Linked DNA regions of Homo sapiens: regions 2, 3 and 4 are each linked to region 1. The links are contacts of gene promoters, found by promoter capture Hi-C in human tissues and cell types (Jung and others, 2019). All regions are on one chromosome and are shown on one strand. The core of a region is centred on a gene start or on the middle of the fragment in contact, and the rest is flanking DNA. Distances in the headings are between cores, read along the strand shown.

Region 1 (2,905 bases), core at 31-2,530:
AAGCAACACCCCCAAAGACGCTGCTGGATCCAAACAACAGACAAAGCTCTCCACAGGAGCAGTTCTGAGCAGCACCCTGCAATTCTAAGGAGACTGCATGGGGGCAGGACATTTTCTTCTAGAACACTGGTTAGATTCTGCTAGAACTGGGGCAAGAAAATAGCTGTATGGCATAAAGTCTACTTGAGGGAAAAGAACAACCCGGCACGGTTACGTTCAATCAGACACTAAACAGAGTGCACGCCCACCCAGGGGACACTGAGGTCGCTGGGCCAGTGTCCCCGCCTGGTTGCAGGTCCCTAACCCCTCCGGGAGTGCAGAGCTGCGGGCAGGCCACACTCACCCTGACCCTTCCTGCTCCCCAGGAAGGGAGGTCAGCCCCGTTTGCAAAACACAGGATGCCCGTGACACCGGAGACAGGTCTTCTTCACCGACAGGAAGTGCCTTCTGGTGCCTGCACGTTTTAACTAAGATGTGTCGCCAATTACTTTTAATTACTGTCGTCCACGCTATTGTCATCAGCATTTCACAAGTTTCTCGGAAGCCCATCACGCAGCCCATACCCTGCGGTTCTCCGGGGACTTATGCATCGGCCCAAGTTGAGGGTTTGTCTGAACTGAAACCCGCATCCTAGACCTGGCTTTCTTCTCCCCAAATCCAAGGGGACACCCCGGTGACCCACAAAAGCTTAGAAAATCCAACACGCAGCAAATGAAACGGGGGAAAGGGGCACCGGCCCTCACTCTGGCCTCTTAGACACACGATATGAAACCTTCATAAAACCTGTTGTACAAGTCAAAGGGGACCACGCTGGGGTAAAAGTCAAACCAGTCCATCCTCGTTCCTCTGCGTACAGAGAGAGGGTCCAGCGCGGGCGGCGCCCACTGCCATCGGGCCGGGGCCGGGGCGCGTGGACAGGAGGGTGCGGATAGAGGCAGATCGGGGGCCCGGTCGCCCCACGTGCGGCCAGACACCCATCCCGGCCGCGCTCTGCCGGCTCTGATCCGGTGCCAGACAGGAGCGACAGGGGCGAGGTGGGGACCAGCCGCCGACCTCACCTGTTTTGTTTTCTTGGAGGAAATTCCTCCGCTGGGGGGCCGAGGTGGCACCGCCCGCTCGCCCCCCGCAAGACCCAGCCGGTCCGCGCCCGCTTACCTGCTCTGCGGCCGGCGGCCCTGGCGCGGGCTCTGCGCGGGGCGGCGCCCTTCGCTCCGGCTGGGCAGGCAGGTCGGGCTCGGGCGCCGCCGGCTGTCGGGCTCTCGTCGGGTTTCGGGTGAAGGCCCCGGCTCCCACCTGCTGCGCCTTTTAACCGCGCCCCACCCCGCCTCTGCCCTGACGCGGCTCGGGCGGGCTGCGGGAGGCGAGCGCTGTCACTCGACGAGCCCCCCGCCCCCACCTACCCGGGGCGCACTAGCCGCTGGGCGCGGACCGTCCCCCTGAGGAGCAAGGAGTGCAGGACCGGGGCTGTCCCTCCGGGGCCGGATGCGCAGAGCGGGGACCTTTTTCCCGTGGCGGGGGCGCAGGGTGGGGGACCCCTAAGAAGTGCACAGTGCGCGGGGCCCTCTTTCCGGCCCTTGGAGGGAACGGGGTACCGGGGATGCAGGGGGTAGGGCTCTCCCTCGGGAGCGCAGAGGGCGGGCCCAGCCCCCTCTGCACGGGTGCAGGTGTGGGGCGCCTGCTCAGGCCCTCGAGGGAACTCTTCCTCCCTAGTGCACCCGTGGGGAGCAGTGTGAGGGGCAGGCTGTGTTTTTGCCAGGACACATCCTCAGTCTTTCTGGGTGATCCAGCCTTCTCATAGCCCGCGGGGTGCACAGACCTCTCCTATAGGAGCCTGGAGGTTCTTTATTAATTAATGACCACTTAGAGGAGGTACAGGGGTTGTTTTTATTAATTACCTCCATCCTTTGAAGACTCCTCCGGGGAAGCGGAGCAGGCCTTCCTCGGGACAGTGCACCAGGAGAGACCACATTGCCTCCCCGCTTTTCAGTCAAGACTAGAAAGCTCAGGGCCAGTACAGGGAGTGGTGCAAGGGCTGGTGGGGTGGAAACGTTGGAAGCTATTTAGGCACCTGGCTTTACAGGTTCAAACCTGTCACGCATCGGACAAAAGATGTGTGACTTGCTTATTCTACAAAACTGTTCGGTAATTAAACGTCCCCACCTAAACCATATGCCACTTGTTGGGTCATATTCTCCCACGAAACAATTAAGATGTCTGTTAAAGGTCATGGAATTTGAGCCAAGACTTCATAAAAATCCGCTTTCCAAAATATTTTATTTGAGGAGAACAAGGTTCTTAAAGAATTTGCCCAAGTCAAGTTTTAAAAACTTTGGGGAGGCCCCTGAAATGGCCTTGAACTTGGAGAGTGGAGAGACACAGAAATCTCTAGGCTTTTTAAATTTATTTATTTATTTATTTATTTATTTATTTATTTATTTATTTTGACTAAGTCTGGCTCTGTTGCCCAGGCTGGAGTGTGGTGGTGTGATCTCAGCTCATTGCAACCTCTGCCTCCCGGGTTCAAGTGATTCTCCTGCCTCAGCTTCCCGAGTCGCTGGGATTACAGGCCCGCACCACCATGCCTGGCTAGGTTTTGTATTTTTAGTAGAGCTGGGTTTCACCATGTTGGCCAGGCTGGTCTGGAGCTCCTGACCTCAGGTGATCCACCTGCCTCAGCCTCCCAAAGTGCTGGGATTACAGGCGTGAGCCACCGCGCCGAGCATCTCTAGGCTTTTTTGTTAGACATCCTCACACTGCCCAGATGTGCCCTATGCGGTAAATCTTGGGTGCTCTGTCCTGCCCCACACAATCTAACTGTGGACTTCCCAGTCTTCTCTCCATTCCTCTCCCAAACAGATGCTTCAGCCAGGCTCAGCTGTTTGCATAGTAAAATAATTTTTCTAAG
Region 2 (3,282 bases), core at 251-2,750, 590 kb after region 1:
TTCTTAAAACACTTCTTTTAATACGAATCTGTATTTAAGGTAAAATAGTAACTAGTTTTCTTCCAAATATCCTGGTAGAGCTAAAACTATTGTTATTATTTCTAAAAAGTATACTTTTAATGTGCAAGCTTTAAAAAATACTCATGGATTTAATTCTATCTTTTAAGCAGAGGAAATGAATGTGCTTGATGGGTGGGGGGCGCTGGACAGCCAGCTTGCTCTCTCCAGTATCATCAGTTTATTCTTTTATAGCTACAAGAACCGTTTGGTGGGGATGTTGGCAAGGATCTTCAAACAATCCATCCTTTCATGGGTGAAGGTGCAAGGTAGACTACACAGTTACACTGTACGGACACAACCATCCAGAGAATAAGTATTGTTTTCCCTCTTATCACTGAGATATCCCAAAATTTATGCTCCCCACTTCTCAATCTGTAATTTGGCTTCAATTTATGGCTTCCTTTTTGTCACATAACCTCACTACAAAGTAATTACCCAACAAGCCAGAGAAATTAAATTCTGAATCAAGAATGCTGACCTCTAAATACACTCACTCACTTGACAAATTGCAAATTTATTTTATTGCATTACATTCTATAATCAACTTCCTAAAAACTTTATCAAGTACCTTTTTCTTTACTACCTTGTCCTGCTGGTCTTGAGATTAGGCTACAAATATACTAAAACTAGATGTAAGGTTCTTCCTTTATAAATTGTTATTTACCACGATTGCCCTTATACACAACACATACATCAAAATGCATATACAAAATACCTCAATGCTATGAAGGCTGCTCTGTTCCTGTAGCAACATACTGCACAGCTTCACCTACTTGGCTGAACTCAAAATGGTTAATTATAAAAGAAACCAAGAAACAAACTAGAGTATACAGTTCTAGTCATATTCTCCTTGAATTTCACTGAAACAATTCAAATGCATCTACTATTATAAATCTTTTATAAAACAGCTGTTGTATTAATATGAACAATTATTGATAGAATTTTAATCTTTTTTTGAGACAAAGCCTTGCTGTATTACCCAGGCTGGAGTGCAGTGGCATGATCTCAGCTCACTGCAACCTCTGCCTCCCGGGTTCAAGTAATTCTCCTGTCTCAGCCTCCTCAGTAGCTGGGATTACAGGAGTGTGCCACCATGCCTGGCTAATTTTTGTATTTTTAGTAGAGACGGAGCTTCGATGTGTTGGCCAGGCTGGTCTCCTCACCCGACCTCAGGTGATCTGCCTACCTCAGCTTCCCAAGGTACGGCCGTGAGCCACCAAGCCCAGCAGGATTTTAATCTTTAAGGCAATACTTTTTCATCTCCACATTCATTCTTACCTCTTCAGTTCAGCAATAGATAATAATTTGATTTCTGGGTATAATGAAAAAATTCTTATCTCCAAAAAGTCTCAAATAATATCAAGAAACTTCTGCAGCCACAGAGAAACTTGGCTGAATACCAGAATTGCTCTTTGTGAACACAGACTCTCAGTTAACTGCAAGTCAGAGTACTCATAAATATGTCTCTTCACTCACATGCTAAAGCCACCCAGCAAGGTGGCTTTATGACATGGGTTTCAAAAACACACACTGGTATCAAGAATGCTTCTTCCTATGAAGATGCTCTTCTTCCCTTGCTACACAACGTTACCACCATCAAAGACATGAATTGCTATTAAAAAAGATGATAATCTGTATATATTCCTAAACAAACACAGCTCTGAAAAAAGTATTCTCACAGTAAAACAAAGTCTTACATGTGGAACCTGTTTTCCTACTGGAAAAAGAAGCTTTCAATATTTCACAAAATTACAATTATAAAAATCATTTAAAAAATAATTTTAAAAAATTAGAATTATAATTAGTTTGCACCAAACAAAACTCAACAGTTGTTCTTATGTGGTAAGAGTGCACACAGGTTTTCAATAAAAGCTATTATTTTAAAGGCTCATTTTAAAAAATTATTCTACATGTTATTGCTTGTAATAAATTATTGTACACTATACACGTCCCCCTCCCCCTCCCCTTTGTTTTTTTGTTGAGATGGAGTTTCGTTCTTGTCACCCAGGCTGGAGTGCAGTGGTGTGATCTTGGGTCACTGCAACCTCCGCCTCTCGGGTTCAAGAGATCCTCCTGCTTCAGCCTCCCAAGTAGCTGGGATTACAGGCGCCCGCCACCATGCCCGGCTAATTTTTTATATTTTTAAGTAGAGAAGGGGTTTTGCCATGTTTGGCAGGCTGGTCTCGAACTCCTGACCTCAGGCAATCCGCCTGCCTCAGTCTCCCAAAGTACTGGGATTACAGGCGTGAGCCACTGAGCCCGGCCTATACAGGTACTTTTCATGCAGTTAATCCACGTCATAAAGCAGTAGAAGGAATTCATACCCTGACTTTACCAATAAGCTAACATGCTCCAAAAAAAAGTGAAGCAGCTTGCTTGAACTCTTGCTCTTCATGACTGCCTGGCCTGTAACTGTGCAGTCTCCCTCAAAAGTTCATCATCTTTTCATCCCATGTTAACTCCCAAACTCATATCTTTAATATGCCTCAATTTTTCAAATTTTACTTAAAAGATCATGTCTTGGCCAGGCGCGGTGGCTCACACCTGTAATCCTAGCACTTTGGGAGGCTGGGGTGGGTGGACTGCGAGGTCAGGAGTTTGAGACCAGCCTGGCCAACATGGTGAAACCCCGTCTCTACTAAAAATACAAAAATTAGCCGGGCGTGATGGCGCATGCCTGTAATCCCAGCTACTCGGGAGGCTGATGCAGAAGAATCGCTTGAACCTGTGAGGCAGAGGTTGCAGTGAGCCAAGACCGTGCCATCGCAGTCCAGCCTGGGCGACAGAGCGAGACTCCATCTCAAAAAAAAAAAGATCATGTCTTTATATACTTTTCCATCTCAGGACAACTACGTATTATGTACTATTACTACAATTACTGGGTGCCCAAGAAAACAAAAGATGAAATGGTTTCTGTCCCAGAGGTCCAATTTGGTTTGGCTGGATTTGTTCCTATATTTCTGGTATTAGCTGTATACTCCCCTGGTCCTCTACTCCCAGCATACAGAAGATACAACGGAAACCGCTTGAGGTTGAGATGACATTTAGGAGGTTTACTCTTAAGAAAGTCACCATGCCTGGGCCACCCCATTAGCCCTCAACTTCACCACACATCCCCAACCTGGTTTCTACGACTAATGCAAAACTTTAAACAGATCTTTTCCCTCTGTCCTTTTCAATAGGTGACCAATTATTTTAAAAAATAATTTTTAAATATCATAA
Region 3 (2,863 bases), core at 275-2,774, 670 kb after region 1:
CTTCTCACCTACTCCTTATAGGGGATAAAAGCAGCTTTGCCAGGGAAGAGGGAAGATATTGGAAAACACAAATACTAGTTTATATTAAGCCAGTGACGAAGGACACTGATTTTACCTGATCAGTGTAAGAACTACAGCCGTGTTTTGGGTGGCATACTCCTTCCAGAATCCAATGAAAACGGAGCCCCTAGCTCCTAGGAAAATTTCAGGAATTTTACAAAACGCTCTATGTCAGGGATTTTTAAGAATCTTTTATTAAGGGGAATACTAGCTAGTTACTTCTGCTTAATTTGCAAAAGTGTGAAAACCTTCACTAGTCTGTTTTGTGACAAAACGTACATTAAGTTAATATTCATAATGAAGCAAGTAAATCCTGCTTTTATTAGACTTCTCGATTTCTAAAGAAACAAAAATATCTGGTGTAAAATATTAGAACTACAAACTACGCTAGAATTAGTTCGAATATTCTCAAATGTGATGCTCAAACACCCTAACACCAAACCAAAAGGAAAAAAGTCCAAAAAGGTAACAAAGCTGGCTGTATCCAATTCTTAGAAAGTCTGAATCAATCCAGGTATCAAATGAACCTCTAACTTCCCAAAACATCTACAAACACCGAAGTCATAATTTGCAAAAACAAAGCTGAGCCAGCAAATAGAAACACTGTTTACTAACTGAACGTAGTTTATCCTTACTTCTCCTCCTTGCATGTAATACTTTTATCCTTTGACTCGGCCTTCTCAAATTCCCTTAGTAAACAATCTCATCAAACTGCTTATTGTAGTGTAAGCATGAAGTCAAAGAGTAGCATAGACTCAGTTCTCCAAATCGCGGGAGCTTTAAGGAGCTTAGCACTAGACCAAGTTTTGCCCCAATGACCTTGGTCTCAACGATTCCCCTCCCTCCCTCCAGCCGGCCCGGCCCTTCCACGTGCTGCCGGCTGCAATTACTCCAGAGGTGGCTGCATGTCAGGGAAGCGCTAGAGGATGCGAATGCACAGGAAACAAGGGTTGCTAACAGCACCCAGGCTGTGCCATCCAATCCCTCCCGACACCAACTCCCCAAGAGCGCTCACACAGCCCTACAAATTTCCCCTACCGAAGCCCTGCGGGGATAACCCCAACTCCTTCCCGGCGCCTTGCTCTGCGACCCAGTCTGTGGGGCAGGGTGTAAGGTGAAGAAATTCTCTTTGCTACACCACTATATTCCCACGCCCGACTGGGGTGCTGGGCAGCCAGGGGAAGGGGACAGCTCCTGGAAGGAGGGGACGACGGCAGGAGGAAAGTAGGCTGAAGAATCCTGCGCCACGCCACCGCCACCTCCTCCTCCACTTCCAGGCTCCCTGCAGGCCCTTGCCAGTCGCCAGCCCAGCGAGCAGCAAGGCCTGGAGTGGCAGGGCCGACCGGGGGCCCGCGAATCCCGGGGTCTGAGGGGCGCGGCGTCCTCACCATCAGAACTTTAGCCGCGTTCTCCAGCTGAGCGATCACTTCTGGGGGCCCCAGCGCCGCCGCCATCATGGTCTCTCTTCAATGACGCGCCATGCGCTGCATTCTGGGAGCGGGCGCCGCGGCCGGCCAATCGCCGCCGCGACCCCGGAGCCTCACGCGCTCCCAGGGCCGTCGCAGCCGCTGTCGACACCGGCGTCGCGGCCTCGGCGGGTCTGGCCGGGCTGCCGGGTTCCGGGTGGCTGGGAGGGGACTAGTGTGAGCCCGGCCGCCGCGCTGGGGCGGGGGCGGCCGCAGCCGGCACCGGGCGAGGCCGAGGCGGTCTGCCCAGACTGCTGCAGCCGCGCGCCCCGCTAAGCTCCCAGCCCCGCGCATGCGTGGTGTCCGGCGCCCCGGCCTCGCGGTGCCCCCGGCCCTCTCCCCACTACCCTAGTACAGCCCGCCCGGGGACCCGCAGATCCACGACGCCAGTTCGCTCCCTCCGTTCTCAGCCCTGCACACCGCCTCCCCTGGCTCCTCCTTGCCCTTCCACGCTCCAGCGCCGTGCAGGATTTCCTAAACTTGGAATCGCTCTTCCCGCTTTCCCCTCCTCAGAGCGCACCTCCTTTCAAAGTATCTCTGTCTCCTGCTTCTCTGTTCCTTCTTGCCATGGGAGAACATTCCAGGATAGAACGCTTCGTTTTCTTTCTTTCTTTTTTTTTTTTTTTGGAGACAGGGTCTCACTCTATCGCCCAGGATGGAGTGCAATGGCCCTATTTCGGCTCACTGCAACCTCCGTCTCCCGGGTTCAAGCGATTCCCCTGCCTCAGCCTCCTGAGTATCTGGGATTACAGGCGCCCGCCACCACGCCCGGCTAATTTTTGTACTTTTAGTAGAGACGAAGTTTCACCATGTTGGCCAGGCTGGTCTCGAACTCCTGACCTCAGGTGATCCGCCCGCCTCGGTCTCCCAAAGTTCTGGGATTACAGGCGTGAGCCACCGCCCCCGGCCGAACGCTTCGTTTTCATAATGGAGGGCTTTGGCCTTCTGCAGGACAATCATCCAAATGTATCTGGGCAGCGGGTCGCTAGGAGACCCTAGGAGGAAAACCCGTCTTTGGCTCTTGCCGTTTTCACTCTTTAAGGGCTGGCTCACATAGGAGAGGGAGAAAGCAGGGACAGGAAAGCCTGACCTTGACTACCTGGCTTCTCAAATGCAGTAAGATGAGCTTTGTCGGCCAGGCGCTGTGGCTCATGCCTGTAATCCCAGCACTTTGGGAGGCCAAGGCAGGCCTCATTTTAGCTCAGGAGTTCGAGACCAGCCTGGGCAACATCGTGAGACCCTGTCTCTACCAAAAAAAAAAAAAAAAAAAGCCCGGTGTGGTGTCTTGCGCCTGTGGTCCGAGCTTCTCGGGAGGCTGAAGCGGAAGGATTGCCCAG
Region 4 (3,254 bases), core at 337-2,836, 530 kb after region 1:
GGGTTCACTAGAAACCCAAACTCCAGTATCACCCAATATACCCTGCACATGTATGCCCTGAATCTAAAATTAAAAATAAAATATGTTTTAAAATTTAAAAATATACATACTCTAAAAAATTAAAAAGAATACACAGATAAAACATCAAAATAATGGACACACTTAATGCTGATGAGAAGGTAGTGATATTGGTATACTCTCTAATTTAGATAACAATTTAAATTGGCATAATCTTTTGGAAAAGAATCTGATAATTTGGACATAAATATTTCTATTTTTCTACACCAATTCTCATTCCTAAGCTTTCTACTCTGAAATAATCACAGATTCACAGGAATGTGCAAAAATAATGAAGGTCCATCCCATGTATCCTTCCACCTATTTTTCCACAATGGTAGTAACTTATATAACTACAGTGCATTGTCAAACCAGGAAATGAACAGTACAATCCACAGAGCTCGTGCAGTTCACCAGTTTTACACACATTTATTTGCAGGCGTATGCACATGTGTATAGTTTTATATAATGATATCACGTGTAGATTCATGAAAACACTTCCATGGATAAGAGACAGAATATTCCAGCACCAAAGAGATGAGTTGTACTACCTTTTTAAAGTCATTCCCATCCTCTCCCACCTCAATCTCCATTCTTAACCCCTGGAAAGCATTTGTTCTCCGTTTCAATAATTTTGTCACTTTAGATAAATGGAATCATACATTATATAACTTGAGATTGTCATTTTCACTCAGCATGGTTTAAAATTTACCCAGGTTGTTCTGTGTATCAATAGTTTATTCCTTTTTATTGCTGAGTAGTAATCCATAGTATGGCCACACTTAACCATTCACCCACTAAAACATTTGGGTTGTTTCCAATTTTAAGGTATTACAAATAGAGCTGTTGTGAACATTCCTGTAAAATGTATAGGAATTTTCATTTTCATTTCTCTGGATAAATGCTCAAGAGTATGATGTTGGATTTTATGGTTAGAGTGTGTTTATTTTGAGGACATCAAAAAATTTATTTCATGATGATACATTATAAGAGGGTTTCATCAAATGAAGAACTGAATCCCTGTACTATGAGGTTTACTGTGGCCAGAGAAGTCAGGATTCTCTTTGCAGTCATGTAGTTGTTTTTGAAATGCCTATTGAAGTGAAATGTGCAAATTTTAAAACATTTGTATTGAGATCTAATTCATATACCATACAATTCATCTATTTAAAGTGTATAATTCAGGTGGAATGTGGGAGGCTGAGACAGGAGGATCACTTGAGCCTAGGAGCAGCCTGGGCAATACAGTGAGACCTTGTCTCTACAAAAATGTTTTTAAAAATTAGCTGAGTGTGATGGCATGTGCCTGTAGACCCAGCTACATGGGAGGCTGTGGTGGGAGGATCACTTGAGTCTGGAGGCATAGGATGCAGTGAGCCAAGATCATACCACTGTATTTCAGCCTGGGTAACAGAACGAGAACCTTTATTTTTCGGGGTCTTCCAATCCATAAAACATGGCACATCTCTCCATTTATTTAGTTCATCTTTGATGTATTTCATCAGTCTTTTTTTTTTTTTTTTTTTTAATTTGAGGCAGAGTCTTGCTCTGTTGCCCAGGCTGGAGTGCAGTGGTGCATTCTTGGCTCACTGCAACCTCCACCTCCTGGGTTCAAGCGATTCTCCCTGCTTCAGCAGCATCCCCAGTAGCTGGGATTACAGGCACCTGCCACCACGCCCAGCTAAATTTTTTTGCATTTTTAGTAGAGATGGGGTTTCACATGTTGGCCAGGCTAGTTTCGAACTCCTAACCTCAAGTGATCCGCCCACCTCGGCCTCCCAAAGTGCTGGGATTACAGGCATGAACCATCGTGCCTGGCCAGGACTTCTAGTGAGCTGAATAGGAGTGATAAGAGCAGATATCCTACACTTGTCCCAGATTTTAAGTGGGAAAGCATTCAATCTTTCACCATTAAATATGATGCAGCCACAACCTTCTGGGCTCAAGTGATCTTTCCACCTCAGCCTCCCAAGCAGCTGGGACTACAGGCATGCGCCACCATGCCCGGCTAACATTTTTATTTTTTGTAGAGATGGGGTCCCACTCTGGTGCCCAGGCTGGTCTCAAACTCCTGAGCTCAAGTGTTCCTCCTGCCTCAGCCTCCGAAAGTGCTGGGATTACAGGTGTGAGTCACTACACCCAGGGTGTAGATGTTCTATGTTAAGATGAGGACATTCCCTTTATTAGTAGTTTGCCAAGTTTCATCATGAATGGGTGTTGAATTTTCAAATAACTTTTTGATATCAACTTATACGATCATGTGATTTTTCTTTAACCTCATGATATAAATTAAACTGATTATCTATTAAACCAGTCTCACATTCCTGGAATAGGTTCCACTTAACTGATTCTTCTTATGTATTGCTAAATCATATTTACTAATATTTTGCTGAGGATTTCGTCACCTATCTTCATGAGGTATATTTGTCTATTGTTTTCGGTCTTTGTATTGTCTTTGGTTTTGGTAACAAGGTAATATTGGTCTCATCAAATAAACTAGAAATGTCTCCTCTTCTATTTTCTGGAAAAGACTGTGTACAATCAGTGCTAACGCAATAAACATTTGGTAATTTTTTTCAGTGAAATCATGTGCTATGGATTCAATTGACACACCACCCCCCTCCCACCCTGCACCCCATTTATATGTTAAAGCCTTAACCCTCATTGTAATTATATCTGGAGATGCTAGGTTGGTGCAAAGGTAATTGCTGTTTCTGCCATTACTTTTAGCCACCCAGTCTACGGTATTTTGTTATAGCATCCCTAGCATTTAAGGCCCGAAATTTTTGTTTTTTTTTTTTGAAACAGAATTTTGCTATTGTCGCCCAGGCTGGAGTGCAATGGCTCGATCTCAGCTCACGGCAACCTCCGCCTCCTGGGTTCAAGCGATTTTCCAGCCTCAGCCTCCCAAATAGCTGGGATTACAGGTGCCTACCACCCACCCTGGCTAATTTTTGCATTTTTAGTAGAGATGGAGTTTCACCATGTTGGCCAGGCCAGTCTCAAACTCCTGACCTCTGGTGATCTGCCCGCCTAGGTCTCCCAAACTGCTGAGATTACAGGCATGAGCCACCATGCCTGGCCTGAAAATTTCTTGTATGAGAGGCCTTTAACTGCAAATTCAATTTAATACTTACACGGCTATTCACATTATCAGTTTCATATGGGGTGAGTTCTCGTAGTTTGTAGTTTCAACG

Evidence for each region. The method cuts DNA at HindIII sites, captures the fragments that hold promoters and counts their contacts. A contact is called where the count stands out against the background at its distance.
Region 2: a contact is called between a fragment that was not itself captured here and the fragment with the promoter of GJB6 in region 1, in 3 of the 25 tissues and cell types used here (hippocampus, mesendoderm cells and thymus).
Region 3: a contact is called between the fragment with the promoter of XPO4 here and the fragment with the promoter of GJB6 in region 1, in 2 of the 25 tissues and cell types used here (IMR-90 fibroblasts and mesenchymal stem cells).
Region 4: a fragment that was not itself captured here is called in contact with the fragment with the promoter of GJB6 in region 1 in 2 of the 25 tissues and cell types used here (H1 embryonic stem cells and mesendoderm cells).

Annotation. Positions count from the first base shown.
Region 1 is chr13:20,231,039-20,233,943 of GRCh38, forward strand. GJB6 (gap junction protein beta 6) reads right to left here and starts at 1,281. Exons shown (of 5, transcript NM_001110219.3): 1 at 1,156-1,281; 2 at 344-467. The HindIII fragment of the contact is 5,298 bases long and covers 342-2,905 here.
Region 2 is chr13:20,816,798-20,820,079 of GRCh38, forward strand. All of the region lies in intron 9 of XPO4 (exportin 4), which reads right to left. Among named protein-coding and RNA genes, the nearest start is that of EEF1AKMT1, 44 kb to the left of the region's middle. The HindIII fragment of the contact is 5,973 bases long and covers 1-3,282 here.
Region 3 is chr13:20,901,222-20,904,084 of GRCh38, forward strand. It overlaps XPO4 (exportin 4), which reads right to left and starts at 1,525. Exons shown (of 23, transcript NM_022459.5): 1 at 1,449-1,525. The coding sequence starts at 1,517. RefSeq lists an enhancer at 1,288-1,337 and a silencer at 1,548-1,927. The HindIII fragment of the contact is 40,685 bases long and covers 1-2,863 here.
Region 4 is chr13:20,760,612-20,763,865 of GRCh38, forward strand. The region is part of intron 1 of EEF1AKMT1 (EEF1A lysine methyltransferase 1); the gene reads right to left. Among named protein-coding and RNA genes, the nearest start is that of EEF1AKMT1, 12 kb to the right of the region's middle. The HindIII fragment of the contact is 7,304 bases long and covers 1-3,254 here.